Regions from separate parts of the Homo sapiens genome. Here regions 1, 2, 3, 4, 5 and 6 are each linked to region 7. The links are contacts of gene promoters, found by promoter capture Hi-C in blood cells and fetal thymus (Javierre and others, 2016). All regions are on one chromosome and are shown on one strand. The core of a region is centred on a gene start or on the middle of the fragment in contact, and the rest is flanking DNA. Distances in the headings are between cores, read along the strand shown.

Region 1 (3,885 bases), core at 227-2,726, 220 kb before region 7:
TCCCCTGGGCCCAGCTGCCTTTTCTTTTATCTCTTTGTCTTGTGTCTTTATTTCTACACTCTCTCATCTCCACACACGGGGAGAGACCCACTGACCCTGTGGGGCTGGTCCCTACAATTTATGTGATATATAAGTTGCACATGAAGAGGAAATATCAGAAAAACAACCTTTATGTTTACATATCCATAAGCCTCAACTCAAAACTAAAATCAGTTTTGATTTAGGGAAGAAAAAGTTAAATGAAGGCAAATGGAAGTATGTGGAAAAGGTGCTTTATATGATACTCTCAAAATTTCTCATACAATCCAATATTTTAATTAAAAGCAATGAATCAAATGTACAGCTTTTTATGCAAAAATAGCATCTATTCATTTTTGGTGTTAGCCATACCCCAAAGTCTCTCATTAATAGCACTGAATTCAGGATCTCATGATACTTCGTGTTCTCAAATGCCTTTTCATTTCCCTGCACAGCAACCTCTGAACTGTGATTCAGTTTTATAACAGCTGCAATAAACTCCACTAGAGGAAGGACTGGTCTATTGATGGGGGCCTTTCAGTTCTAGCTTACAGTCAACTATTGCCAAATTTTTCCTTATTTGTTCTTTGGACAATTTTTGTTTGCTCCAGGATTTAATTTTTCAAATTAAAAATTATATGGTAGCTGTTTTGTTTGTTTGTTTGTTTGTTTTTCTAAATCCCATAAGACTCAAAAGAGAATGAGTAAAGCACTCTGGCAATCAGTTGACTATCAATCTATTTTTACCAAGTAATCATAAATTTTCCATCTGCTGTGGAGGACACCAAGTTGGATCCCTATATGGGATGTGAGAGGTGTGAGATACTCCCTTCCTTCTTCCTTCCTCCTCCTCCTTCTTAGAAAGGCATATAAATTTTATTAACATATATACAGGGAGAACCACAGAGTGATTACCCCCTTCTTTCTTAGTTTTGGAAATTTTTCTTTTGAAATGATTTCAGACTCAAAGAAAAGTTGCAAGAAGAATACAAAGAACTCCTGCATACTCTTCATTCAAATTGGTTTTATTAGATTATCTTGATAGATAGATAGAGATGGTATACATGTTATACATATATAAAGCTTATATATATAATATATAAAAAGTTTTTTGTAACCACCAAAGAATAAGTTCAGATGTGGTGCCCGCTTACCTTTAAATACTTCAGTGTGCTTTTCTCTAGAAAGAGGACCTTCTCTTAGTGTGATAACGGTGCCATTTTCACATTCAGGAAATTCACATTGACAATACCATTTTCTTAAAGTCCTTGTTCAAATTTCACCAATTGTCTAAAGAATTTTAATAGCAAAAACAATTTTTCTGGTGTAGGCTCCAGACTGCTAGGCCTATATGTCACATTTAGTTATCATGTCTCTTGGGTCTCCTTTAACCTCTAACTTCCTCAGCTGTTTCAAGAACCTGGCATATATATATATATATATATATATATATATATATATATATATATTTTTTTTTTTTTTTTTTTTTTGGTAAATTATACCAGCTAGTTACTTTGTAGAATGTCTTTCAATTTGGGTTGTCTGATGTTTCCTTGTGATTAGATTTAAGTATGTGAATTTTTTCCTCATTTCCTTGAATAGCTTGATTAGATGCATTTTTGCATTTTGGGCATGCATTTTTGGCAGGAATATCACAGAAGTCATGCTGTTTCTTTTCAGTTAATCAAATCATGATACATATCATGTCTGTTTGTCCCAATCCTTGTGGGATTAACCTTGATCATTAAGTTGGTGTCTGCCAGGTATCTCCACTGTATAATTACTGTTTTTCTCTTTGTAATTAATAAGTAATTTTTGGAAGATATTTCCTCATGAAGCTTTTGCCAACTAACTTTAGAATAGAATTGATGATTCTTTCTGAATCAATTTTAATTGTGATAGTTGCCAAATGGTGATATTTTAAATTTGTTATTCCTTCTGCATTTATTAGTTTTCCAACTGTAAGAAAGTGATTTTCTTTCCTATTTATGTAATCATTTATTTATTTATGTTAGTATAGACTCATGGATTCCTATTTGAGTCAATGAGTTACAATCCACTACTATCATTTTGGTGACCAAATTGTCCCAGATCTGGTAAGTGGAAGGGAGCTCCTTCAAACTGGCTCCTATGCCTTTTTGACGTGTCCTCATAATTTTTTACCCACTTCCTTACTTTCTGGCAAAACAAGATTCTCAAGTTCATCATGAATTTCTCTATTCCATTCCTGGGCTCAGCCACTTCTCCAAGGATCCCTGGTTTATTTTAGTGGAGAATGATATTTATAAAGCAAGATCTGGTGCTAGATGTACCTATTGCTACTGGGGTGTCGCTGCTTCTAGGTCCTCCTGGGAATCAGTGCAAGAAAATATAAACACACACACACACACACATATCTACATCTATTTATAAAACTAAATTTTAAAAATGAGTTCACACTGATATCATCAGTTGCAAGCCAGCATTATAGTTCATTCTAACCTTCCTCATTTTCCTTTTTTTTTTTTCCTTTTCTTGCTTTCTTTCTCTTTCTTTCTTTTTTTTGTTTGTGACAGGTTCTGACTCTGTCACACAGGCTGGAGTGCAGGGCTCACTGCAACTTTCGCCTCCCAGGCCCAAGTGATCCTCCCGCCTCAGCTTCTTTGAGTAGCCAGAACCACAGGCACGCCACCACACCTGGCTAATTTTTGTATTTCGTGTAGAGACAGGATTTCGCCATGTTGTCCAGGCTGGTCTCAAACTCCTGAGCTCAAACTATCCACCCGCCTTGACCTCCCAAAGTGCTGGGATTACAGGCGTGCCCAGCCACTGTAAACATCTTACGACCATGGGTGGTGACTGGCAAGAAATGTACCTTGCTAGTTTTAAGATGGAGTTATTTTTAAAATGGTGTCACCCTGGCTCTCCTATGCTCCTGTTTCCCAATTTGACAACCAACACGATCTTTCTGATCAGCTCATCCTTACTTAAAAACCATCATTGGGGCCGGGCGCGGTGGCTCACGCCTGTAATCCCAGCACTTTGGGAGGCCGAGGCAGGCGGATCATGAGGTCAAGAGATCGAGACCATCCTGGCTAACACGGTGAAACCCAGTCTCTACTAAAAAATATAAAAAAATTAGCCTGGCGTGGTGGCTGGCGCCTGTAATCCCAGCTACTCAGGAGGCTGAGGCAGGAGAATGGCGTGAACCAGGAAAGCGGAGCTTGCAGTGAGCCGAGTTCGCGCCAGTGCACTCCAGCCTGGGCGACAGAGCGCGACTCAGTCTCAAAAACAAAACAAAACAAAAAATCATTGCCTCTCCAGTGTTCTTAACTAAAGGTGCCATCTGCCTAACTTAATTTAGGAATGCCTGTATGTTTTGGTACTGTTTAAATATTCCCAGCTTTGCCACTCTCCGTCTCACACCAACATCCAGTCATCTGGAAGATCTTTCCATTCCTCCAGTTCTCTCGTAACTAAAACGATTTCAGACTTACCCCTCACTCCCACAGGTAACTCGCCCTTAACTCTTCTTGTAGAACTTAAATTTCATGTATTGTTCTCTCCTTCTGTCCCTCACTTACTTCCTAAATCTCTGGTGGATGTTCCCCTGTGGTCCTGTTACAGTTATTCTGACCTAAACAGAACTGATCACGTTGCTTACTGGGAAGATGCACATGCAATCTCTAGTGTATAGTAGGTCCTCAATAATTACTGGTGACTGGTAAAGCAGCCAAGGCCTTTGGACTATAAATCGATCTTATTCTACGTTAATAACAATATTAGCACAGGATTCTATTCCCTTGCTGGATATTATTTACATTTGATAATGAATGAACTAATTCTCTTTGACAGCAAAACATGTATTCAGCTTACAGCCGAAAATGC
Region 2 (3,678 bases), core at 580-3,079, 190 kb before region 7:
TCTGGAGCAATGGTTCTCATCCCTGGTTTTGCATCAGCATCACTTGAAGAACTTTAAAATGGTACCAGTGCCAGAGAGTCTGATTAGGGCAGACCTAGGAAGTGGGGCTGTGTAGAGGCTTCCAGGTGATTCCAATATGCATCTAGGGTTGAGAACCATTGAGCTAGGAGGCTTTGAATGGTGTCTCTCTCAGATTTTAGGCCTTGTTGCTGTTTTATTCTTCTTGTGAATCTGTTGGTTTGTTCAACTAACATTTATTGTGTGACTATGTAGACAGCATTCTCTTAAATTTTGTGGATGATGTGAGGCTGGCCAGGGTCGTAAATACTTAGGGGCATAGAGAATCATTTTAGATAGACCCTTTTCACTTGAAGATATGTGATGAGAGGCAAGAGAGTTGACATGCTGAATAGAAAGGTGAAATCTGATGATCTTGAACTTAGGTTTGGAGTACAAATTGCAAAAATACCAATGGAAAAGTTTTAAAAAGAATTTAAAAATTGAAGCTGATGAAAAGCAAACTCAACATAGGCAATAATAGGGTAGTTGCCTCCCACAAGCTCCCACAACCTCAGATTGCAGCAGGAGCCTGGAAGGAAAGTTGAGAATCTTGCTGTACAGGCCACACTGTACCAGAAACGTTGTAGTCACATTACCTCAAGAGGAGTATAGACAGCCCATGGAGGGATTGACAGCACACTCATCCCTCAACATTTGTGATGATAAACCCCTTCTTTACATTCTGCACTCTTTCGGAGAGCTCATCCATTGTTTTCCTCCTAAAGCTTTCTCTCCTGTGGAACTCTCTATCCTGAGCTACAGACATATATATCCAGTCACCTACAAAACAGCTTCTCAATGCCTTGCAATCTTCTCAACCTCTGAATGGCAAAAAGGGAGCTCATCCTTTCTGCCTTTGTGTGGCGGTCTCGCCCCAGCCCACACTTGCTGCCCTTCCAGGTGTTCCTCTCGCTGCATGATACTGCCAGGAGACCTCAGGACCATCTTTCACATCTTTCTTGGCTTCTTGCTCTGCCTGTAGTTCTAGATCTATCTTCGAGGCATTTGACAAGGTCTCTTGTGAGTTCTTGCAGGCAAGATGGAGCTGAAAACAGTGTGAACTGAAAACATCAGATGGATTCACAACTGGTTTTGCCACCATATTTTCTGAATATCTTTCTGAATCTTTCTGCTTCTCTCTGTGATCACTGCCGGTACTCTCATCATCTCTTAGTTTTCTGGAATAGTCTCCTGAGCATTTTCCTTGCCTGCAGTTTTGTTCCTCTCCAAACCATTGTAGGTAGAGCAATCTTGATAAAATAAAGCCATCCATTTTATTCCAGCAGTCAGCACATTTTTTCTGTCAAGGCCATAGAGGAAATATTTTGGCTTTGCAGGCCATATGGTCTCTGTTGTAACTATTCACCCTTGCCATCAAAGCATAAAAGCAGCCATAGACAACATGCAAACAAATGAGCATTGCTGTGTTCCCATAAAACTTTATGTTCAAAAACAGATCAGATGTAGGGCCAGATTTGGCCCATGGGCCATAGTTTACCAATCCCTCCTTTGTTCTTTTGTTTATTGTTATTGACTTCCCACTGCCCTTAACATCGAGTCCAGACTCCATGACAGGGGCTCCAAACTGCATGATTGGTCCCTGCCTTTATGACCAGCCTCTTTTCTTGACATCTACCATTACACTCTCTGCTGCAGGCATAATGAACTTTGACTTCTTGCAGCATAGTTTGCTTTTCCTCTTTTCTTCTCTGTGCCTTTGCACGTGCCGTGTTCTTTGCTTTGTCATCCCCCACCCCCAAATACTTAACTCCTACTTAGCCTTCAAGTCCTGATTTAGATGTCACTTTTTCTGAGTTTTTCAGGACCCAATTCTAGTTCCCCCAGGTGTAGATTAGACTGGCCTTCTTCCAAGTCTGGAGGGATGATGTGTTACCTCTTGCTCTTACCACACTGAGTTCTATTTACTTAGCCTAACCAGAGTACAAGCTCCATGAAGGCAGGGATCAAGATGTCTTTTTCACTATTATAGCCACACAGTAGGAGCATATCAGATACATTTTAAATGAATACATGATGAGGAGATCCTGGAGAAAAGAGAACTCTAGAGGATGTTGTGGTTTTTAAATATTTACAGGACAAGAAGAGAGAGTTCTGTAAAGAGCAAGAACAGAGGGAAGCTCAGGGAGACAGTGTTCGGGCTGATAGAAGAAAGCTGTGCCCAGTGGAGCAGATTAGATAGATAGGGAGTGAATTCTTGAGGCGAGTATGAATCCTTCACTGAAGTTTTCAAGCATCAGTTGGATTCAGTGACTTTTAAATCAAATGTGGCTGATTGGTCTGAAGTTCGAATGTAGTTATACACAGGACATGTTGTTGAGAATCTTGGTTGGCAGGCTTCCAGGTGTAGACAAAGTGAATTATTTTATTTTTTTCTTCCTCAGCCCAAGGCTTATTGATATTTGCGGAGTTGATTTCTGCGATTAAGAGGACGTTGGCTCGCCTTCTCGTGATCATTGTGAGCCTGGGCTATGGCATTGTGAAGTAAGTACTGGCGTGTGGGAAAAATGCTGGGTCCCAGCCCAGTGATTCAGTCCGTCTACATTATGACCTTTGTGAAAATGGAACTTCTAAGTATTGTAGTACAAATCCCTTTGGGAAAAATCTACAAGAACACATTTTTAAAAGATTTCCACATACTTGCTATTTTATGTTATCTTCCAATAAAGACCCTGAATTTTTATTTCAATAACTTTATATAGTTAGATGAATAAATAATCAACTTTAAGGATAATGGAAAATCTAAAATAATTCAAACCATTTTCAAACCCTTTTCTGTTATTTAGACAGTATCATTAAGCTTTTATGGTCCTATCTGAGTGTTGGAAGAGAGAGTGGATTAAACACCAAGTCAGCAAAACTTCTGACTGAAACCTGTCTGTCCCTCAAGGACTCTGCTTCTGGACCTTCTCCGGCGGGTCTTTTCCTCCTCTCACCTGTGAATCACTGGGCATAACTATGGGAGAACTTGATTTCTATCCTTGTTGTGTTTTTTCAGACCTTTCTTCCTGCTTCTTTCCTAAAACCCTGATTCCCAGAAGCTCACTCTTCAGGCTGGGTCACCTGCTGCATCTTGTTGTGGTCACTGTGAGCTTCCAGACCCTCCCTCATTCCTCAGCTCTGTGGGCACTGGCTTCACAGGTGTCGTCCTCAGCATTTCATCTGTCAGAAGGCCATGGGGTCTCAGGAGCCATGTGCATGACCCTTTAAGTAACCTGACCTCACCTCCCCACCTCTCCTGCTCTTGCCCATCACCATGTTTCAGCTACTGATTCCCAGTATCATTTTCTAGACTTTATTATATATATAACTGCACCCTCTTCAAAATCTCAATTTTAAGCAATCCACTTTTCAACTGTCAACCTCCTCTGTTTCCTGTTACTTTCTTTAACATGTCGGTGTCAGTCTTTTTCGACTATACTTTGGCCTCCAGCCTTTTGACCCTGGCACCTTCCGTTGTCCCTCCCCATCTTATATCCTTACCTTCTTCCTTTTGCTTGGATTCCCTGGTCCAGCAGGACATTGACACCCAAAGACCCCTGCCTTTCTCTTTGTCAACCTTCTTGACAAAACCCCAGCCTTGCTAAGTCCAGCTTTCCT
Region 3 (3,809 bases), core at 445-2,944, 170 kb before region 7:
TGTAATTTCTGATCATGCTGAAAGCATTTCTACTTAAAGTTTTAATGATATTTTCATTCTTTCTGTTATTTTCTACATAGCATTTTATCATTTTATTAATTTTATTGTAATCTAATTAAGCATCTGTTAAGGCAACATCAATAAGTAACTCAGATGTTGAGGGTAATTTTATCTTTGTTTCATTTTTTTGTCCTCTTACTTTTGCTTCTCTTAGTAACATTCTTTTTCACCTTCTGTTTTGGTTCTCTAATACATCGATGAAATAGAAAACAGGAAAACAAATAGAAAAAAATCATCAAATCTAAAAGTAATTACTTTGAAAAGCTTAGTGAAAAGTGGCTTAACCTCTAGCTACTCTAAACCAGAAATAAAGAAAAAACTACAGTGGACCCTTGAACAATGTAGGGTTAGGGGCACCAAACTCCTGAGCAGTTGAAAATCTACTTATAACTTTTGACTCTCCCAGAACTTAACTACTGATAGTCAACTGTTGACCAGAAGCCTTACTGTTAACATAGTTATCACATATTTTGTGTATTATATGTATTTTATACTGTATTCTTACAATAAAGTAGGTGGAGCAAAGAAAATGTTATTAGGTAGAAGGAAAGGGGAGGCAGCAAAGGCAGACATATGTGGTGTAACTTTTATTGAAAAAAACTTGCATGTAGGTGGACCTGAGCAGTTCAAACCCATATTATTCAAAAGTCAACTGTAGTACAGTAAGACAAACTTCTAATGTTGGAAATGATAGAGAGGACATTACTATGGTAAAAAAGGTAAATAAGGAAATATTATGAACAATTTTATGGTAACAAATTGGGCAATCTGGATGAGGCAGACAAGTTCATTGAAAAATACAAGTTCATTGAAAAATACATATAACAACCCAATTTTAATTCTAACCCTGTGCCACTAAGTCTGAATAGCTCTGATCTATTAGAAATTTAAAAAAAATTTTTTTAATTTAAAATCTTCCTATGAAGTACCAGGCCCAAATGATTCACTAGTGAGTCCTTTCAAATACTTAAGGAAGAAATGGAAGAAATATTCTAATTTTACACAAAATCTTTAGAAGGTAAAGGAGGTGGGAGTACTTAAAAGGCCAGTACAATTGAAATGCCAAAGTCTAACAGACGTTACAAGAAAAAATTATAGACCAAAAATTATAGACCACTTATAGACCAATATATCATTAATGAGTGGGCATACAAAAATTCTTTAAAAATATTAGCAAATAAAATCTAGCAAAATATAGAAAGACAATCATGATCAAGTGGACTTTATCCCAGGGTTGCAAGGCTGTTTTAACATTCCGAAAATCACTCAGTATAATTCATCATATTAAAATAGTACAAATAAGGCTGGGTGCGGTGGCTCATGCCTGTAATCCCAGCAGTTTGGGAGACTGAGGCAGGCAGATCACCTGAGGTCAGGAGTTCGAGACCAGCCTGGCCAACATGGCAAAACCCCCTCTTGACTAAAAATACAAAAATTAGCCGGGCGTGGTGGTGTGTGCCTGTAATCCCAGCTACTTAGGAGGCAGAGACGGGAGAATTGCATGAACCCAGGAGGCAGAGTTTGCAGTGAGCCAAGCCACTGCACGCCAGCCTGGACAACAGAACAAGACTCTGTCTCAAAAACATAAATAAATAAATAAAAATAAAAATAAAATAGTACAAATAAAAGAAGAAAGAAGAAAAAAATGACAAAAGTATCTCAGTGGGTACAAATAACAAAAGCCTCAGCAAACTAATTCTAAAATGGTATGAAAACACTCCACAGTTAAAATTCTATTTAATGGTGAAATAGTGAACACTTTCTTCTCAAGATTAGGGATAAAGTGCAAGGGTATGTACATACCACTTTGATTCTGCATTGTATGGGAGGTCCTACCTAGTGCAGAGAAGCAAAACAAAACTCCAAAGAATGTGAAAGAAAGAACATGTGGAAAGGAGGAAGTAAAACTGTGTTTATTCGCAGGCAACATGGTTATGTATGGAAAAATCCCAAGGAGTCTAAAGAAAAGAAAAAGTACGGTAGAACTAAGTGACTGTGACAGTCATAGGGTATATGTCCAATGTACAGAAGTCAGTTGTTTTTCTACATATTAACTGAAAACAATTGAAGGTGAAGTTTAAAATGTTATTTACCATACCTTCAAAAATAAAATACTTGGAATAAGTTTAATGAAAAATACGTAAAACCTCTGCAATGAAGACTATAAAACAATGCAGAGATAAATTTTAGAATAAGTAAATGTAGAGATAGAACCTGTGTCTGAATTGGAACTCTCAGTATTAAGCTCTCAGTTTCCCAGTCTGATAAATAGATTCAGTGCAATCCCAATTATAATTCTAGCTGACTTAAAAAAAAATACAGTGGTTAAGTTGATTCTAAAATGTATATGGAAAAGCAAAAGACGTAGAAGATCCTTAACATTCTTGTAGTTACAACATGGATGAACCTTGAAAACATTATGTTAAGTGAAAGAAGCCAATCACAAAAGACCACATACTGTATAATTTTGTTTATATGAAAGGTCCAGAACAGACAAGTCCGTAGAGGCGGAAAGTAGATCAGTGCTTGTCACAGGTTAGAGGAGGGGGAAAGTAAGGACTGACTGCTAATGGGTTTGGGGTTTCTTTGTGGGGTGATGAAAATTTTCCAAAATTGGAGAGTGGTGAATATCTCAAATCTCTGTGAATATCTCAAAATCTAACTGTACTTCAATATGGTATGCGAATTATCTCTCAATAAAATAAAATTAGTGGATTTATACTGATTTCAAGACATAATTATTTCAGATTACAGCAATCCAGACAGTGTGGTATTGGCATAAGGATAGAGAAATCCATCAAGGTAGTAAAATAGAGTCCAGGAATAAACCCATGCATGTGTGGTCAGTTGATTTTTGACAAAGGCACCAAGGCTTACATGAAGAGAGGATAGTCTTTTTAATAAATGGTACTGGAACAACTGGATAAATGTGTAGGAAAAAAAATCATTAGACTTTTGTTGCACATCTCACAATCAATTCAAGATGGATCACAGACCTAATGGAAAAGCTTCAACTGTTATTCTTCTAGAAGAAAAAAGGAAAATATTTTAATGACGTTGGATGGGGTAATTTCTTAGGACATGAAAAACAGTAACCATTAAATTAAAAAATGAGACTTTATCAAAATTTAAAATCTATGCTCATCAGGAAGAATTTAAGAAAATAAGAAGGCTAGCTACAGTGGGAGATAAAATATTCTCAGTACATATATATCTGACAAAGGGCTTATATCCAGAATATAAGTAGAATTCCTGTAAATCAATAAATGATAACCTATGTTGCAAAAAATGAGCAGAAGACTAGTGTAGACACTTCAAAGAAGACATAGGAATGGCCAATAAACCCGTTAAAAGGTGCTCAATATAATCAGTCATCAGGGAAATGCAAATTAAGACCATAATGAGCTGCCACCACACATCTGCTAGAATGGTTAAAATTAAAAAGTCTGATAGATAGCATGAACTATTGGAGAGGATGTGGAACAGCTGGCTCTCTCATACAGTACTTGAAGGAATGTAGAATAGCATGACCGCTTTAGAAAGCAATGTGACAGCTTCTTACAAAGTTAAGCATATACCTACCATACAGTTCAACTGTTCCACTCTAAGGTTTACCCAGAAAAATGAAGCAGATGTCTACAGAAACACAAGAATGTTTACAGCAGCTTTATTCTTAATAGTCCAAAACTGGAAGTAACACAATTATCTACAAACAGGTGAAAAGATAAATAAATTGCCATATATCCATA
Region 4 (3,633 bases), core at 434-2,933, 240 kb after region 7:
GCTGAGGTGGGAGAATAGCTTGAACCTGGGGGGTGGAAGTTGCAGTGAGCCAAAATTGTGCTGCTGCACTCCAGCCTGGGTGACAGAGCAAGACTCTGTTTCAAAAAAAAAAAAACTAATTTTTAGTAGTTTTTAAGTAAAGTCTGCTGTGATAAATTAGTTATTATTTGTCTGAAAATATATTTTGTCTTTTTGTTTTTAAGGACATTTGCTCTGGACATAGATTTCTAGATAAGCAGTTAATTTCTTTTCCTACTCTGAAGGTTGCATACCATTGTATTCTGGCTTCCATCTTTTCTGCTGAGAAGTCAGGTGAAATCTTAGTATTGCTCTTAATGTATCTCTTCTCTATTTTTGAGATTCCTTTACATTGGTTTTTATAAATTTTACTATGAGATGTGTGTAGTTTTCTTTGTACATATTCCTGCATTTGGGTTCATAGTGCTTCTTGCACCGTGGCTTGATATCTTTTACCAGTTTTGGAATATTCATGGACATTATACTTTCAGTTGTGTCTTTTGATCCATTCTCCTCTTCTTCTAGGTCTCTAATTACATGATTGTTAATGCTTTTCACTGTTTCTCACACTTTTATGGCATTTTTGTATCATTTTATCTCCCCATGGTTGTACTCATTCTTTTCGTCTGACATCTTTGTTTGCTAATCCTTTCTTTATCTATTAAAACCTGTTAACAATTTTTACAAGGTAAAAGCTTTTAAAAGCTGCTGTTAAACTCACCTATTGAGTTCTTGATTTTAGTTAGCGTGCTTTTTAGTTCTGAAATTTATATTTGTTTCTTTTTTTCATATTATAGTTGTCTTATGAAATTCTCCCACTTGCCTCATATTTTCTTGAAGATAATGGCAATTCTTTAACATCCTTATCTGATAACTCCAAAATCTAGATTACCCATGGCAGAGTAATCCAGAGTATGCCCTGTGTATGGGCTGCATATGGCCTGTAGCTTGTTTTTGTAAGGTCTGTGGGCAAAGAATGTTTTTTATATATTAAAGATTGTAAAAATGAGAATATGCAACAGAGGTGGTACATATCCTGTAAAACCTAATATATTTACTGTCTGGCCCTTTATAGAAAAAGTTTGTCAGCTCCTGACTTTTAGGTCTGTTTCTATTGTCTCTTTTTTCTCTTGGTCTTATTTCTAAATATGCCTGGAAGTAGTATTTTAGCATTAGTGTTCACTTACTACAGTTTACTAAGTCTAGTAAAGATTTTTTAAATGAGGTGTAACATCCACAAAGTGTACAGTCTGGTGAGTTTTCAGTTATGCATGTACTCACCTAGCTGTGATATACATAAAAATATAAAACATTTACAGCATCCCAGAAGACTCCTTTGAACTCCCTCAAAACATGTATTCCCTGCCAGGCCAGGTGCGACGGCTCACGCCTGTAATCCCAGCACTTTGGGAGGCCGAGGCAGGCAGATCACGAGGTCAGGAGATTGAGATCATCCTGGCTAACACGGTGAAACCTCGTCTCTACTAAGAAATACAAAAATTAGCCAGGCGTGGTGGTGGGCACCTGTAGTCCCAGTTACTCAGGAGGCTGAGGAAGGAGATTCGCTTGAACCCCGGAGGTGGAGCTTGCAGTGACCCAAGATCACACCACTGCACTCCAGCCTGGGCGACACAGCGAGACTCCATCTCAGAATAAATAAATAAATAAATAAATAAATAAATAAATAAATAAATAAATAAATGCCCTGCCAAAGACAGCCACTTTTCTGACTTTTATCACCTTAGATTCATTTTGCTTGTTCTTAAACTTTATGTAAATGGAATTATACCATATTTCCTGTTTTATGTTCAGCTTTTCCCAGTGTTACATCTGTGGCATTCATCCATGTTATTGCACATAACAGTAGTTTATCCTTTTTATTACTGTGTAATATTCCATTGTATAAGTATTTCAGTTTATTCCTTCTGTAGTTGGTAGACATCTGGGTTTTATCTCTTATATTTTAGAACTATAATCTATCTGAAGTTGTTATATATCAAGTTTCATGTCTTTCCACAAGGATATCCCATTGACCCAGGGCCACTTGTCCTTTCCCCGCTGCATTGTGGTGTGTCTTTGTTACAAATCAGGTGGCTGGCTGGGCACAGTGGCTCACACCTGTAATCCTAGCACTTTGGGAGACCAAGGTGGGTGGATCACAAGGTCAGGAGTTCAAGACCAGCCTGGCCAATATGGTGAAACCCTGTCTCTACTAAAAATACAAAAATTAGCCAGGCATGGTGGCATATGCCTGTAATCCCAGCTACTTGGGAGGCTGAGGCAGGAGAATTGCTTGAACCCGGGAGGTGGAGGTTGCAGTGAGCCAAGATCGCATCACTGCACTCCAGCCTGAGCAACAGAGCAAGATTCCATCTCAGAAATCAATCAATCAATCAGGTGGCCATTTATGTGAGCGTCTGTTCTAGGATCTCCATTCTGTCCCATTGTTCTACCATCCACCATGTCAATGCTACCCTGTCACAATGACTGAGACTTTTTCCTTACTGTATTCTCACGTAGAGCCCAGTAGAATAATTACAGGGCTTGGAGTCCCATTTCTTCAGGGAATATAGGTGGTTGGAATTCTGACACCAGATAAATCAAATATGCTGGAAAAAGAATTCCTATTTTAGGCAAAAGCTTTATTGGAAGTTTGCGGCATCCTTTCCGCATTGTTCATTGCTGTTCAGAGTGTTGCTGCTGTGGTGCTATAAATGCTCCCAGCAGCTCTCAGGTTTTCTTTCCTTCCAGCTAGCCTCCCCCTAACTTCCCACTCCAGCCAAAAAAAGATGCACTGTATAAGTCTCTGATGAGGGATAAAAATCCTTTAAAGTGTATTATTAATCTTGAGCTTTCAGCAAAAAAAAAAAAAAAAAAAAAAATTAGTTTTGATTTGCTTCTGATTCTCAGGTTTTTCTTTATGTTGGAATGTAATACTTCTTTCAATTTTATTTTATCTTATTTTTTTGAGACAGAGTCTTGGTCTGTCACCCAGGCTGAAGTGCAGTGGCGCAATCTCATCTCATTTCAACCTCTGCCTCCCGGGTTTGAGCGATTCTCCTGCCTTAGCCTCCCGACTAGCTGGGATTACAGGCATGTGCCACCACTCAGTGCTAATTTTTTGTATGTTTAGTAGAGATGAGGTTTCACCATGTTGGCTAGGCTGGTTTTGAACTCCTGACCTCAAGTGATCTGCCTCCCTCAGCCTCCCAAAGTGCTGGGATTACGGGCATGAGCCACTGTGTCCAGCCCCCATTTTATATTTTAGTATTTTTTTCTCTCTCTCTTTTTTACCATAAGCATCTGTTAAACTTTTAAATCTTCCTTAATTATAATATTTTAAAGAATATTCTAATTAAAACAGGCTAAGTACGGTGGCTCATGCCTCTAATCCCAGCACTTTGGGAGGCTGAGGCAGGCAGATCACTTCAGCCCAGGAGTTCAAGACCAGCCTGGGCAACATGACAAACCTCTGTCTCCAAAAGTTACAAAAAAAATTAGCAGGGTGTGGTGGTGCATGCTTGTAGTCCCAGCTACTTCGGAAGCCTGAATTGGGAGGATCGCTTGAGCTCGGGGAGGTCAAGGCTGACTGCAGTGAGCCATGATTGGGCCCCT
Region 5 (3,496 bases), core at 883-3,382, 180 kb after region 7:
CCTATTTCTATGTATATACAATCTAATGTTAAAATCTCAGAGAGACCAAAGGATCACAGTCATATTCAGTCACACAAAGGTCCCTTTAAAGAGATTAAAGGTGTTGCTCTCAGATTGTCTCAAACAATTAAACCTCTAGGGAGCTTAAGAGTATTTTTCCTCAGCCTCTCAGCAGAAGCTCAAGATAGTGAAGGGTTTATCCAGAGAGATTTGTAGGGTTTCGTCTAATGTAGTTAACACATTATGCAAGCAAACAAAAAGACCCACAAATTTCCTGAGAAATCTGTGTGTCAGTTTGGAGTGGAAAAGGCAGACCCAGTACAACATAAAAAGGAATTGTTGGACCTCCAAAATTCTAGCAGGAAGCAGGCTGAGAAAACAGATGCTACCTTTTCTTTAAAAAAAAAAAAAAAAAGTCCGGGCACAGTGGCTCACACCTGTAATCCCAGCACTTTGGGAGGCTGAAGAGGGCAGATCGCTTGAGGTCAAGAGCTCAAGACCAGCCTGGCCAACATGGTGAAACCCCGTCTCTACTAAAAATACAAAAATCACCCAGGCATGGTGGTGGGAGCCTGTAGTCCCAGCTACTCGGGATGCTGAGGCAGGAGAATCACTCGAACCCGGGAGGTGGAGGTTGCAGTGAGCCCGAGATTGCGCCACTACACTCCAGCCTGGGTGACAGAGTGAGACTGTGTCTCCAAAAAAAAAGGATGATTCAGAGGGCAAAAATAAGGAGTCCAGAGGATGGAGCCAAGAGCCATGGAGAATTATTTTTAGCAGGAATGAGACTGAGTTCTAAAATTTGGATTTCAGAATTGCTATGGACCAGTAACACCTGTGTGCCTCCTATTTGCCCCTTTTTTGTGTGTAGAGATTATCTTGTGCCTGTCCCACCATCGTATATTGGGTGATATGGTTTGGCTATTTTCCCAAGCAAATCTTGTCTTGAATTGTAGCTCCCGTAATACCTATATGTTGTGAGAGGGACCCAGTGGGAGATAATTGAATCATGGGGGCAATTTCCCCTATGCTGTTCTGGTGGTAGTGAATAAGTCACATGAGATCTGACGGTTTTATAACGGGTTTCCCCTTTCACTTGGCTCTCATTCTCTCTTTGTCTGTCACCATTTAAGACGTGGATTTACTCCCCCCGCTTGCCTTCCACCATGATTGTAAGGCCTCCCCAGCCCTGTGGAACTGTGAGTCAATTAAACGTCTTTCCTTTGTAAATTACCCAGTCTCAGGTATGTCTTTATTAGCAGCATGAGAACAGACTAATACATTGGGTGTGGGAGGTGGGCAGGTATCTCGTCTCTTTAGCTTCAGAAATCCACAGATCAATTGGAACTGTGCTTAAGGAGCTGTACTTGGGGAACTACACCTGATGTATCTCAACCATACCTGGACCTGATTTAGATGATGGGATTCTGGACTTAGAGCTGATGTTATGAGGTGAGGCTCTGGGGACTCTTGGAGAGTTGTAGATGTATTTGCCATGAGGGAGGGATGTGAATCACTGGGGACCAGAGAGCAGACTATGGTAGGCAGCTTCCTAGGATGGTCTCCAGTGATCTCCACTTCCTGGTATTCAACCTCTTGTGTAATCCCCTCCCCTTAAGTGTGGCCTGGACCTGTTGCTTGCTTTTCATGAATAGAATATGGAAAAAGTGATGGAATATTATTACTGGAAAGGGGTCCCGATCCAGACCCCAAGAGAAGGTTCTTGGATCTCACACAAAAAAAGAGTTCAAAGTGAATTCATAGAGTAAAGTGACAGCAAGCTTATTAAGAAAGTAAAGGAATAAAAGAATGGCTACTCCATAGGCAGAGCAGTGGTGTGGGCTGCTCGACTAAGAACACTTACGGTTCTTTCTTGATTATATGCTAAACAAGGGGTGGATTATTCATGAGTTTTCCAGGAAAGGGGAGGACAATTCCCAGAACTGAGGTTTCCTCCCCTTTTTAGACCATGCAGGGTAACTTCCAGACATTGCTAAGGCATTTGTAAACTGTCATGGCACTGATGGGAATGTCTTCTAGCATGCTAACGCATTATAATTCGTGGATAACGAGCAGTGAGAATGACCAGAGGTCACTTTCATTGCCATCTTGGGTTTGGTAGGTTTTGGCTGGCTTCTTTACTGCAAACTGTTTTATCAGCAAGGTCTTTGTACTTTGTGCTGATCTCCTATGTCATCCTATGACTAAGAATGCCTAACCTCCTGGGAATGCACCCCAATAGGTCTCAGCCTAATTTTACCCAGCCCCTATTCAATATGGAGTCGCTCTGGTTCAAACACCTCTGACAATATTACTTCAAAGATTAAGTTACAAAAGACTGTGGCTTTTTTCTTGCTTACCATCTCTTACCCTCTTTCTTGCTCACTGTAGTGAGGCCAGCAGGCATGTTGTAAACTGCCCAATGGAAAAGCCTATGTAGTAAGGAACCAAGAGAGGCTTCCAGCCAACAGCTTTTGAGGAATTGAAGCTTTAGTCTAATAACCCATGTAGAAACTGGCCAACAACCATGTGAGAGTGCTTGGAAGCTGATCTATCCCTAATCAAGCCTGAAGGTAACTGCAGCCCTGCTGACACCTTGACTGCAACCAGAGCCCAAGGATCCAGCTACGTTATGTCCAGATTCCTGACTCAAAGAATCTATGAGCTAATAAACGTAGGGGTTTTAAGCCACTAAGCTCTGGAGCAATTCGTTATGCAGCAACAGAGTGTGTAATAATTACCCTCAAACATAGCAGCTTAAAATAACAAGCATTTATTACCTCAGTTTCTGAGGATCAGGAATCCACCTGCAGCTTAGCTGGGTGGTTCTGGCTCAGAGTGTCTCACGAGGGTGTAGTCAAGCTATCCGCCTGAGCTGCAACATCTCAAGGCCTGACTGAGGCTGGAGAATCCACTTCCAAGCTCACTGTATGGTTGTTGGGAGGCCAGACACTCAGTTCTTTCCATATAGGTTTCTCCACAGGGCTACCTCACAACATAGCAACTGGCTTCCCCCAGAGCAAGTGGTCAGAGAGAGATCTCAAGACTGGCTGTCGTCTTTTTGTAATCTATTCTCAGACGTGACATGCTATCACTCTTGCCTATGATGTTGGACACACAGATTAAACTTAGTGTAACATGGGAGGGGACTACACAAGATTGTAAATACTAGGTGTCAGGGATTATTGGGGGCCATCTTGAAGGCTCATTACCAACTTCCTGTGTCCATTTCTCTTCTTCCCATTAGTTTTATCTAAGAATAGGCCAACCTGTCAGAGATTACGTTCTCTGGACTCCTTTTTAGCTAGATTGGTAGTGTGACTACATTCTGACTAAAGGCACACATATGGAATAAAGTCATGTGACTTTGGGGTTATGCCCTTAAAAAGGATTTTGTTTCTCTCCCCCATTTTTCTCTCATACCATGGGCTGGAACATAGGTATAGTGAGACTATGCAGGTAACACCCTAAGGGATGGCTACGAAAACAAAAAAGA
Region 6 (4,009 bases), core at 1,250-3,749, 150 kb before region 7:
TGTATTTTTCTATTTTAAAAAGTTAAATTATTCCGTAATTTGGAAGAAGTTTCGTTGAATGTAGGACATAACCGTTTGAAGGGTTTTCATTTGAAAAATTGATGTATTTTGTGCCTTAATATTTTGTTCTTTTAATAAAAATGCTCTGAATTTGAATGATTGATTCTTGATAGTATTTATTGGTGCTAGATTATATAAATCTGTAGGACATATAGACATATATAGACTCCAATAGATGGCAGGACATAAAATTCTTAAAACAGGAGGCACAGCTAATCAAACATGGAAAAGTGCTCAACCTCAGTAGTAGTAAAGAAATGCAAAACAAAAGATAGGGGATAGTTTAAAAAATCAAATTAACATAAGTTTGTACTATGGTATATTTGTAAAATCCTTTTGCTTTCAAAGTCTGATGAAATGAGCACACTTATTAATGATGGTAATATAGTTGATTTCCTTTTTTGTGAAAAGTTCAACAATGTGTTTATAACCTTTGAATAATGTCAATTCTGGTGATATTTTAAAAAATGATTCAAAATACAGAATAAAGTTTCTCCACAAAAGTGTTTATTATAATATTAAAGTAGAAATAAAATTAGAGACAAACAATATCATAGTTAAGTGAATTATGGTTTAACCAGCTACTTTATGAGATATTGTATAGCCATTAAATTATGAAGAATTTATAATAAAAATACTTATAAGAACTGTGATGCAGTGGCACATATGTGAATGCTTATCTATGTAAAAATAAGGTAGAGCAACTTACTCTCATGGTTCAGAAAAAATGCATTCTATCTTCCAACTTTTCTGTAAAGTTACAGAATTAAGTAATTACATAATTCTTAATTACATAAATAATTACATAATTAATTATTATTTTGAAATAAAGATAATTTAAAAAAAAAAAGGCCGGGCGTAGTGGCTCACGCCTGTAATCCCAGCACTTTGGGAGGCCAAGGTGGGTGGATCACAAGGTCAGGAGATCGAGACCATCCTGGCCAACATGGTGAAACCCTGTCTCTACTAAAAAAAAAATACAAAAAATTAGCCGGGCGTGGTGGCGGGCGCCTGTAGTCCCAGCTACTCGGGAGGCTGAGGCAGGAGAATGGCGTGAACCCGGGAGGCAGAGCTTGCAGTGAGCTGAGATTGGGCCACTGCACTCCAGCCTGGGCGACAGAGCGAGACTCCGTCTCAAAAAAAAAAAAAAAAAAAAAGTAGAGAAAGGATTGAGTGGAAAAGCACTGGGGTGGCATACATGGTTAGTGTTGAGGCTCAGCCAGGCTGTGGTCACAACTTGATTTTAGCCTTTCAGAAACTTAAGACAAAAAGTTTATTTCTTGCTCATGTGACAATTCTTCAGTAGGTATAGAGGTGGGAAGGGCCACCCTCCTCCACATGTCCCTCAGACACCCGGGGTTTATTTCCATCTTGCGGACCCACCATACCCTAGGGCCTAATTTTTACCCCTAATTTTCTAAGAAACATATTCAACATAAATATGTAAAAATAATAGTGCCTTGGCCAGGCGCAGTGGCTCACACCTGTAATCCCAGCACTTTGGGAGGCCGAGATGGGTGGGTCACGAGGTCAGGAGATCGATACCATTCTGGCTAACACAGTGAAACCGCATCTCTACTAAAGATAGAAAAAAATTAGCTGGGCATGGTGGCAGGCACCTGTAGTCCCAGCTACTCGGGAGGCTAAGGCAGGAGAATGGCGTGAATCTGGGAGGCGGAGCTTGCAGTGAGCCGAGATTGTGCCACTGCACTCCAGCCTGGGCGACAGAGCGAGACTCTCAATAATAATAATAATAATAATAATAATAATAATAATAATAGTGCCTTAGACTATGTATCAGAAAATCTAGAAAAGTGTGTCTTGGTTCACAGCTTAATCTTAATTAATTTAAAAAATCCATCTTGCTGTAAGTAGATGGGACATGGAGAATTTTCTTCATGGACATTCTCCCACCTTTGACATGTGAGGAGTGAGAGGGACAAGATGGATAGTCCCAGAGGGAAAGGAAGGGCTGTTGTCATAAGACTGATGACCATTTTGGCAGACTTGGGAGCACTTGCAGAGTGCCAGGCTTTGGTAACCACTGTATTCTCACAGTAGCCAATGAAGTATTAGTTCCCTTGGTTCATAGATTAGAAAACTGAGAGAGAGGTTAAATAATTTGATAGTTTACCATCCTGGCAGGTGGCAAGGCTGGTATAATACTGGTGGGAATCATCCTAGAAGGGTTGTCCTCGAAGTCCTGAGGAGAGAGGAGTTTCGGTTAACAAAGTGCTGTTTGCTTGTTAGAGAAGGTTAAGTAAGACAATGTATCTAAAGTGCCTGGTGCATAGCCTTCAGGAGGCAGCTAAGGTTAATGTGAAAGGTACAGCAATGATTGAGGGGTGACTGAGACTCAATTGAAACAAATGGCATATGAAATTCAAACACATTCCAGGATTGATTCACTTGTATTAAGATGAAGTTACCCAGAGCAAGTTTTATGCCCCTTAAGTGATAGGGAATGTACAGCTACATTAACAGAGGTGACCTGATATTTACATCTGGTCAGAGGCTGACCTGATTTATATCTGATTTCAGATGTAAATAATTTTGACAGTATTTCCTTAAAATCATTTTGAAAAAACAAGAAGCTGCAATGGAAGTTTATGCACAGGAAAAAATGTGAAAGCTATCCAGCAGGTGGTGCCAAAGTAATGTCTCTTGAAGAGTTCTAATCTTTTTTTCTTTTCTCTAATTCTTCCCTTTACAGATTTTATAAATTTACTTACCAAATGCCACTAAACAAATTTGGGGATGAAGAAAAAAACTTAAAAATAATTCACACAGCACTGCCCTGGAAAAACAGTTATTTTGGTATATTTTAAAACTTTAAAGCTGGAAAGAGCCTCTAAGATCATCTTACAAATGAGGAAATGGAGGACCAGGAAAGTGTCACTGGCTACAGTTCCCTCAGACCAGGGTTGAAGACTGCCTCCTAGTTTGTTTTTCTCACCTCTGGTCCTTATTGTCAGGGGGAAAGAGATGCCACAGAAGGGTTGGACTGGGCATCAAAACTTGAAATACATTTTATATACTTTGGTGACCACTTGCTACGTCATTTCATATGACTTCATTGTCTTTTCAGCTTCCAAATTCTTGTTTCTACATGGTCATAATTCCAGTTCTCTGTTTCTTCATTTGATAAGTGGAGATTTTCTTGGGGTTCAGTGGAGTCTGCTGGAAAGGCTTGTCTTTATTTGACCTGAGTCACAGCTTTCCCAGTGCTAAATGCCTCTTTCCAGGGGATACTTATTAAAAATATTCACAGGCATGTTTTTTAATGTCACAGCTGCCTAAAGCAAAAAATAACATTCAAAGCAAACAACAGACTGACCAAAAACCTTAAAAGGAAAGTCTAAAGAATGAGATGACCATAAGGCCTTTGAAAAACCTTCAACATACTTACAGGAATCTAAAAGGTCACATGCATGCATAGGGCTCTGCATGCTCAGCAAAGACCACAAACAAGAAGTGAAGGCTAAGGCAGAGTTAGTTGTAAACTGCCTGAATGAGTGCTGAAGGTGTGCCCCACCATACACACAAGCACCTCGGCAAAGACTGGGAGATTTACTGGTTCCGAGAGGTTAAGAAAGTCTCTGTCCAATAATTGTCTAACCATTACATAACTGAGTAGAGACTTCAGTGACCACATATCACAAAATATACAGACTTTACGGAATTAGTTTAGAGAACTCACTAAACAACTACTACAACAAGTAGTAACAACAGCAAACCATTGAAGGGGAAGGAACTGGTTTTCAGAGTTACCACATTATATTATTTAAAATGTCTAGTATTTACCAAAAAATTATGACATAAGCAAAGAAATGACAGTGTATCTCTCACAAGAAAAAAAAGAGCATCAAAACAAAATGTTCCTGAGAAAGACCAGATGTTTGACTTACTAGACAAAAACTGTAAGCTGTTTTGTAAGTATTCAATGAGC
Region 7 (3,858 bases), core at 1-2,500:
TCATTGCAATTGTTTTTGAATGCATTCCATTTATGTATTAGTAAAATGTATTATTAAGGAAAGACAAATTAAGTCAGATATTTGGATTAATCATTGAGTCTATCATTTTAGTAAAAAGCAAGGAACTTTCCTTCAGGACTAATATATTAAATAGGCCAAAACACTGACTTGTCATTTAAAAATTTTTTAAGGTCACTTCATAAGTATAAAAAACTCATGCATGGTCGGGCGCGGTGGCTCACGGCTGTAACCCCAGCACTTTGGGAGACCCAGGAGGGCGGATCACCTGAAGTCAGGAGTTCGAGACCAGCCTGGCCAAAATGGGGAAACCCCATCTCTACTAAAAATACAAAAATTAGCCAGGCGTGGTGGCGCGTGCCTGCAGTCCCAGCTACTCGGGAGGCTGAGGCAGGAAAATTGCTTGAACCCAGGAGGCAGAGGTTGCAGTGAGCCGAGAGCGCGACACTGCACTCCAGCCTGGGCGACAGAGGAGACTCCATCTCAGAAAAAAAAAAAAAAAAAAAAAAAAAAAAAAAAAAAAAAGGCATGCCTAATAGTATTTATAAAATACTCGCATACATTTTACATGTTAATATTATTACGAAATAAAGTAACGTTTATATAATTATTTCAATAGCTATTCCTATTTAAGTAATAATTGGGTAAATTTAACAGCAAATACAAGAAAAAACTGCATGGCAAGCTATTTTCCTTAAAACATGATTCTGAACACTAAACGTTACAAAAACAGATACTTGCTACAACTGTGAAGGAGAAACTGCATTTCCCTATTATTACAAGAACAAAGGTTTTCACAAAAAAATTTAAGGACTCTACAGCCGCCTTGTTCTTTGTTATCCCACCCCTGCCCGCCTCGGCTAACGGTTTTGGGGCCCGTTTGCTTGGTGCGTCTGGAACTCCTCGGGCGGCGGGCGTCTCGCAGGAAAAACCGCGGCCCGTACTGCGCCGGGAGCAGAAGCGCTGGTGGCCCTCGTAGGTCCCGTGGGCTGCCTCCCCCTCCTGCAGACACTCGAGGAGCCATCCGGCCGCGTCTCTCGCCGCCCGGCCCCGCCACTAGGCTGCCGCCTCCGCCGCTGCACAGAGAAGGGCGAAGACCCGCCCCTGCAGGTGATTGACGGGCACTCTCCTCCAATGGTCAACGCGCTCGGCCCCGGCGGGCTGGGCAAGGGCCGCGGCTCGCGGAGGAATCTCTCTTGCCCTTTAGTCCCGGGCAAGGTGTTGCGGCCGGCGCCATTTTCTCGAGCCGCCTGTTTCGGGTGCCGCCATGTTGGTGAGGAGAAATCACCGTTACGGCCACTGTCCAAATCCCCGCGTCGCTGCACGCCGCCCGCCCGCTCCCACGCCACAGCCACCGGCGGCGAATAGAGACTAGAGCGGCAGCGCCGGCAGCGCGGGGCCGTTGCCCAGTGTTTGCAGTTAGAGCCCCATCTCTCTGGCGTGGTTGTTAATAGACTGGAAAGTCTGTGTCTGTGTCGCTCACTAGTAACCGTGAGTTTTTACCACTTCGTCACCTGTCGGCGGCGGCCGGGAGCAGGTTCCCGCAGGCGGCGCGGGGGGTCTTCCCCGCGCCCCGCCGCCGCCGGCCTCGCAGACCTGCCCTCCAGCCCCGCCCCGTTCTTGACCAAACATGACAGACTCTGAACATGCAGGGCACGACAGGTCGGGAACCCTTCTTGTCTGTCTTTCTGTCGGATGAGAGGAGGGGTCTGGGGCGGCGGGAGCGGGCCGGGGCCGGGCGCCTCCTGCATGACCTAGACGTCTCTGTGTGGCTCCGTCAGTTCCATGACGCGCACTCTTATGTAAACTGCTGGATCGCGGCCGCGGGGGAGGTCGGCCCGGCCGCGCCCGCCTCCCCGAGCCGGGGTCGCTGCTCGCCAGCGCCGGCCCCGCCCCCGGCCGGGCACGTGCGAGCCCCCCGCCCCCCGGGCGGGCTCCGTGTGCGCCGGGCGGCTCTCAGCGTCCCGGCTCGGTGCTGAGGTCCTGCTTCTGCCCGTCCAGGTGTCGGTGCTCCCGGCCAGATAGGACCAGCCAGGAATTTTCAGGAATGGGTGTTTTGATATTTGACTGCTTCCCGAGAACCGAGAACACCTCTAAAAAAATAAACATTTGGTTTTCAGGGAAGTTTTAAGCAGCACCAAAAGGCCATCTGTTGTATACAGTCTTATCCCTTGGAATTTGAGATGGCAAGTTTCAAGTTTAATATGTTAACACAAAATACTTAGGCTTTGCAGAAACTTAGTTTAGCACAGTTTTACCCTAACGTAAAAACTCCATGGATTATTCCGGCTAGCCCAATTTTCTAGATGGTGTGTATCACTTGAATATTGAGATTCTGATTTTTTATTTTTTGCTCTGTGCCTTAAGAGGCACATTCTTGTTTCCATTCGAGTTTGGGGACATTTACAAAGTATACTGTAGCATACTTAAATTTTGGTTATAATTCAAATTTTCATTCGTATATATCTTTAATAATGCGAAAGGGGGGCTTTCATTCATTAAACTTACTGAAACAAAATCCATTGCATCTGATTCTTACTTAGAATATTAATTTGAAAATCTAGAACCTCACAATTACTCCTTTGTGAATAGAAGTAAGAAAAAATATACGTTTTACTATAGACTATATACATTGCTGAAGTTTTATCTGTAGTAATGTGATCGGCTTGGTAAAGCATCCTAAACACGTTTTTTAAAACCCAGAAGCAAAAATCACAAACACTGCTGAAATTTGAAATATCTAAATACCTAGCAATCTTGAGAGGGATAAAAATGGTATTTCAACAACTTCAGTATTGTAATAATAAAAGTAGATTCCCAGAGGGCACGTCAATCAAAGTGTAAAAATTTTTGGAAAGTAAAATGCACTTTTAAAAATGATAAGCTTGCACTTGGCACATTTTTAATGATTTTTTTAACGTTATCTTTTGTATTAAAAAGGAAATTCTTAGAATGGGTTGACTAATACCTTGCTCTTGAGGTATGGACAAACCAATGATGGGGTTTTGCTAATGGAGCCTAAAATCCTTTTTTTTTTTAATATGGAAGAATATCTGTTCCCCTCTCTTAGTGCACAAAGTAACTTCTATATATGGAGTTATGTATTGTACATCATGAAAAAACAATGCCATCAAATTCAAGTATCAAAATAATTTTGCTGGTAAGGAACTGTGATGACAGACCTTTTAAAGAATTTGAAATTTTAAAATACTGGTTTAGAGGTTAGAAAACTTTAAAGAATTATTTGTAAGATATGTTAATAGGTTGGTAGTAGGAGCTAAAGATTAAGATTAGTCTATTTTATTTAAAATTCGGACTAAAAGTATTTTCTAGTGATTTCTGAAACAAAAAGGTTAGCTCCACTTTAACTTAGCCAATTGTTAAGTGGCATCATTGTGCTGAGATGAAGGAGATGGTTTTTTTTTTTCATGCTTTTTTTGTCAACCCACATGAAAAACAAAACAACTACATCAAAAACAAAGTGAACTAGAAGTCAGGAGAAATTCTACAAGATCAGATCAATGGTTCTAAACCTTCCCTGGGGAACTTTTTTTCTTTAAAGTATTGGCGCTATTTCTGTTGGTCTGGACCTCAGCCTGGGTTTTAAGAGTTCTAAAAGCTCCCCAGGAAATTCTAATATGTGCCAAATTGAGAACCGCTATACTCGATCAGTGTTTCCCAATGATAGTTAATCATCAGAATCACTTTGGGGAATAAATTTTTGTTCTGCCCAGAGCAACTGAATCAGAATCTCTAGGGTATTTTTCATAGGCTCCCTGGGAAATTCTTAAGAAATTTGGGGAAAAAATGGACTAATCTGCGGGCTTCCAAAATACTGTA

What was found. The method cuts DNA at HindIII sites, captures the fragments that hold promoters and counts their contacts. A CHiCAGO score of 5 or more calls a contact.
Region 1: a contact is called between a fragment that was not itself captured here and the fragment with the promoter of ZC3H6 in region 7, in 3 of 17 cell types (total B cells, fetal thymus and megakaryocytes). The highest score is 6.4, in total B cells.
Region 2: a contact is called between a fragment that was not itself captured here and the fragment with the promoter of ZC3H6 in region 7, in 3 of 17 cell types (total B cells, activated CD4 T cells and naive CD4 T cells). The highest score is 5.6, in total B cells.
Region 3: a contact is called between a fragment that was not itself captured here and the fragment with the promoter of ZC3H6 in region 7, in 3 of 17 cell types (activated CD4 T cells, non-activated CD4 T cells and total CD4 T cells). The highest score is 7.6, in activated CD4 T cells.
Region 4: a fragment that was not itself captured here is called in contact with the fragment with the promoter of ZC3H6 in region 7 in 1 of 17 cell types (erythroblasts); the score reaches 5.8 in erythroblasts.
Region 5: a contact is called between a fragment that was not itself captured here and the fragment with the promoter of ZC3H6 in region 7, in 4 of 17 cell types (total CD4 T cells, non-activated CD4 T cells, naive CD8 T cells and 1 more). The highest score is 6.9, in total CD4 T cells.
Region 6: a contact is called between a fragment that was not itself captured here and the fragment with the promoter of ZC3H6 in region 7, in 7 of 17 cell types (activated CD4 T cells, naive CD4 T cells, total CD4 T cells and 4 more). The highest score is 12.6, in activated CD4 T cells.

Annotation. Positions count from the first base shown.
Region 1 is chr2:112,050,023-112,053,907 of GRCh38, forward strand. No RefSeq gene overlaps it. Among named protein-coding and RNA genes, the nearest start is that of TMEM87B, 3.3 kb to the right of the region's middle. The HindIII fragment of the contact is 755 bases long and covers 1,100-1,854 here.
Region 2 is chr2:112,083,543-112,087,220 of GRCh38, forward strand. It overlaps TMEM87B (transmembrane protein 87B), which reads left to right. Exons shown (of 19, transcript NM_032824.3): 9 at 2,463-2,562. Among named protein-coding and RNA genes, the nearest start is that of TMEM87B, 30 kb to the left of the region's middle. The HindIII fragment of the contact is 2,093 bases long and covers 784-2,876 here.
Region 3 is chr2:112,101,050-112,104,858 of GRCh38, forward strand. All of the region lies in intron 15 of TMEM87B (transmembrane protein 87B), which reads left to right. Among named protein-coding and RNA genes, the nearest start is that of FBLN7, 35 kb to the right of the region's middle. The HindIII fragment of the contact is 2,744 bases long and covers 323-3,066 here.
Region 4 is chr2:112,514,280-112,517,912 of GRCh38, forward strand. All of the region lies in intron 5 of TTL (tubulin tyrosine ligase), which reads left to right. Among named protein-coding and RNA genes, the nearest start is that of POLR1B, 26 kb to the right of the region's middle. The HindIII fragment of the contact is 1,945 bases long and covers 712-2,656 here.
Region 5 is chr2:112,449,230-112,452,725 of GRCh38, forward strand. No RefSeq gene overlaps it. Among named protein-coding and RNA genes, the nearest start is that of RGPD8, 17 kb to the left of the region's middle. The HindIII fragment of the contact is 707 bases long and covers 1,780-2,486 here.
Region 6 is chr2:112,119,159-112,123,167 of GRCh38, forward strand. It overlaps TMEM87B (transmembrane protein 87B), which reads left to right. Exons shown (of 19, transcript NM_032824.3): 19 at 1-156. Among named protein-coding and RNA genes, the nearest start is that of FBLN7, 17 kb to the right of the region's middle. The HindIII fragment of the contact is 9,145 bases long and covers 1-4,009 here.
Region 7 is chr2:112,274,347-112,278,204 of GRCh38, forward strand. ZC3H6 (zinc finger CCCH-type containing 6) reads left to right here and starts at 1,251. Exons shown (of 12, transcript NM_198581.3): 1 at 1,251-1,680. The coding sequence starts at 1,649. RefSeq lists enhancers at 953-1,525, 1,141-1,350 and a silencer at 1,541-2,020. The HindIII fragment of the contact is 12,828 bases long and covers 1-2,900 here.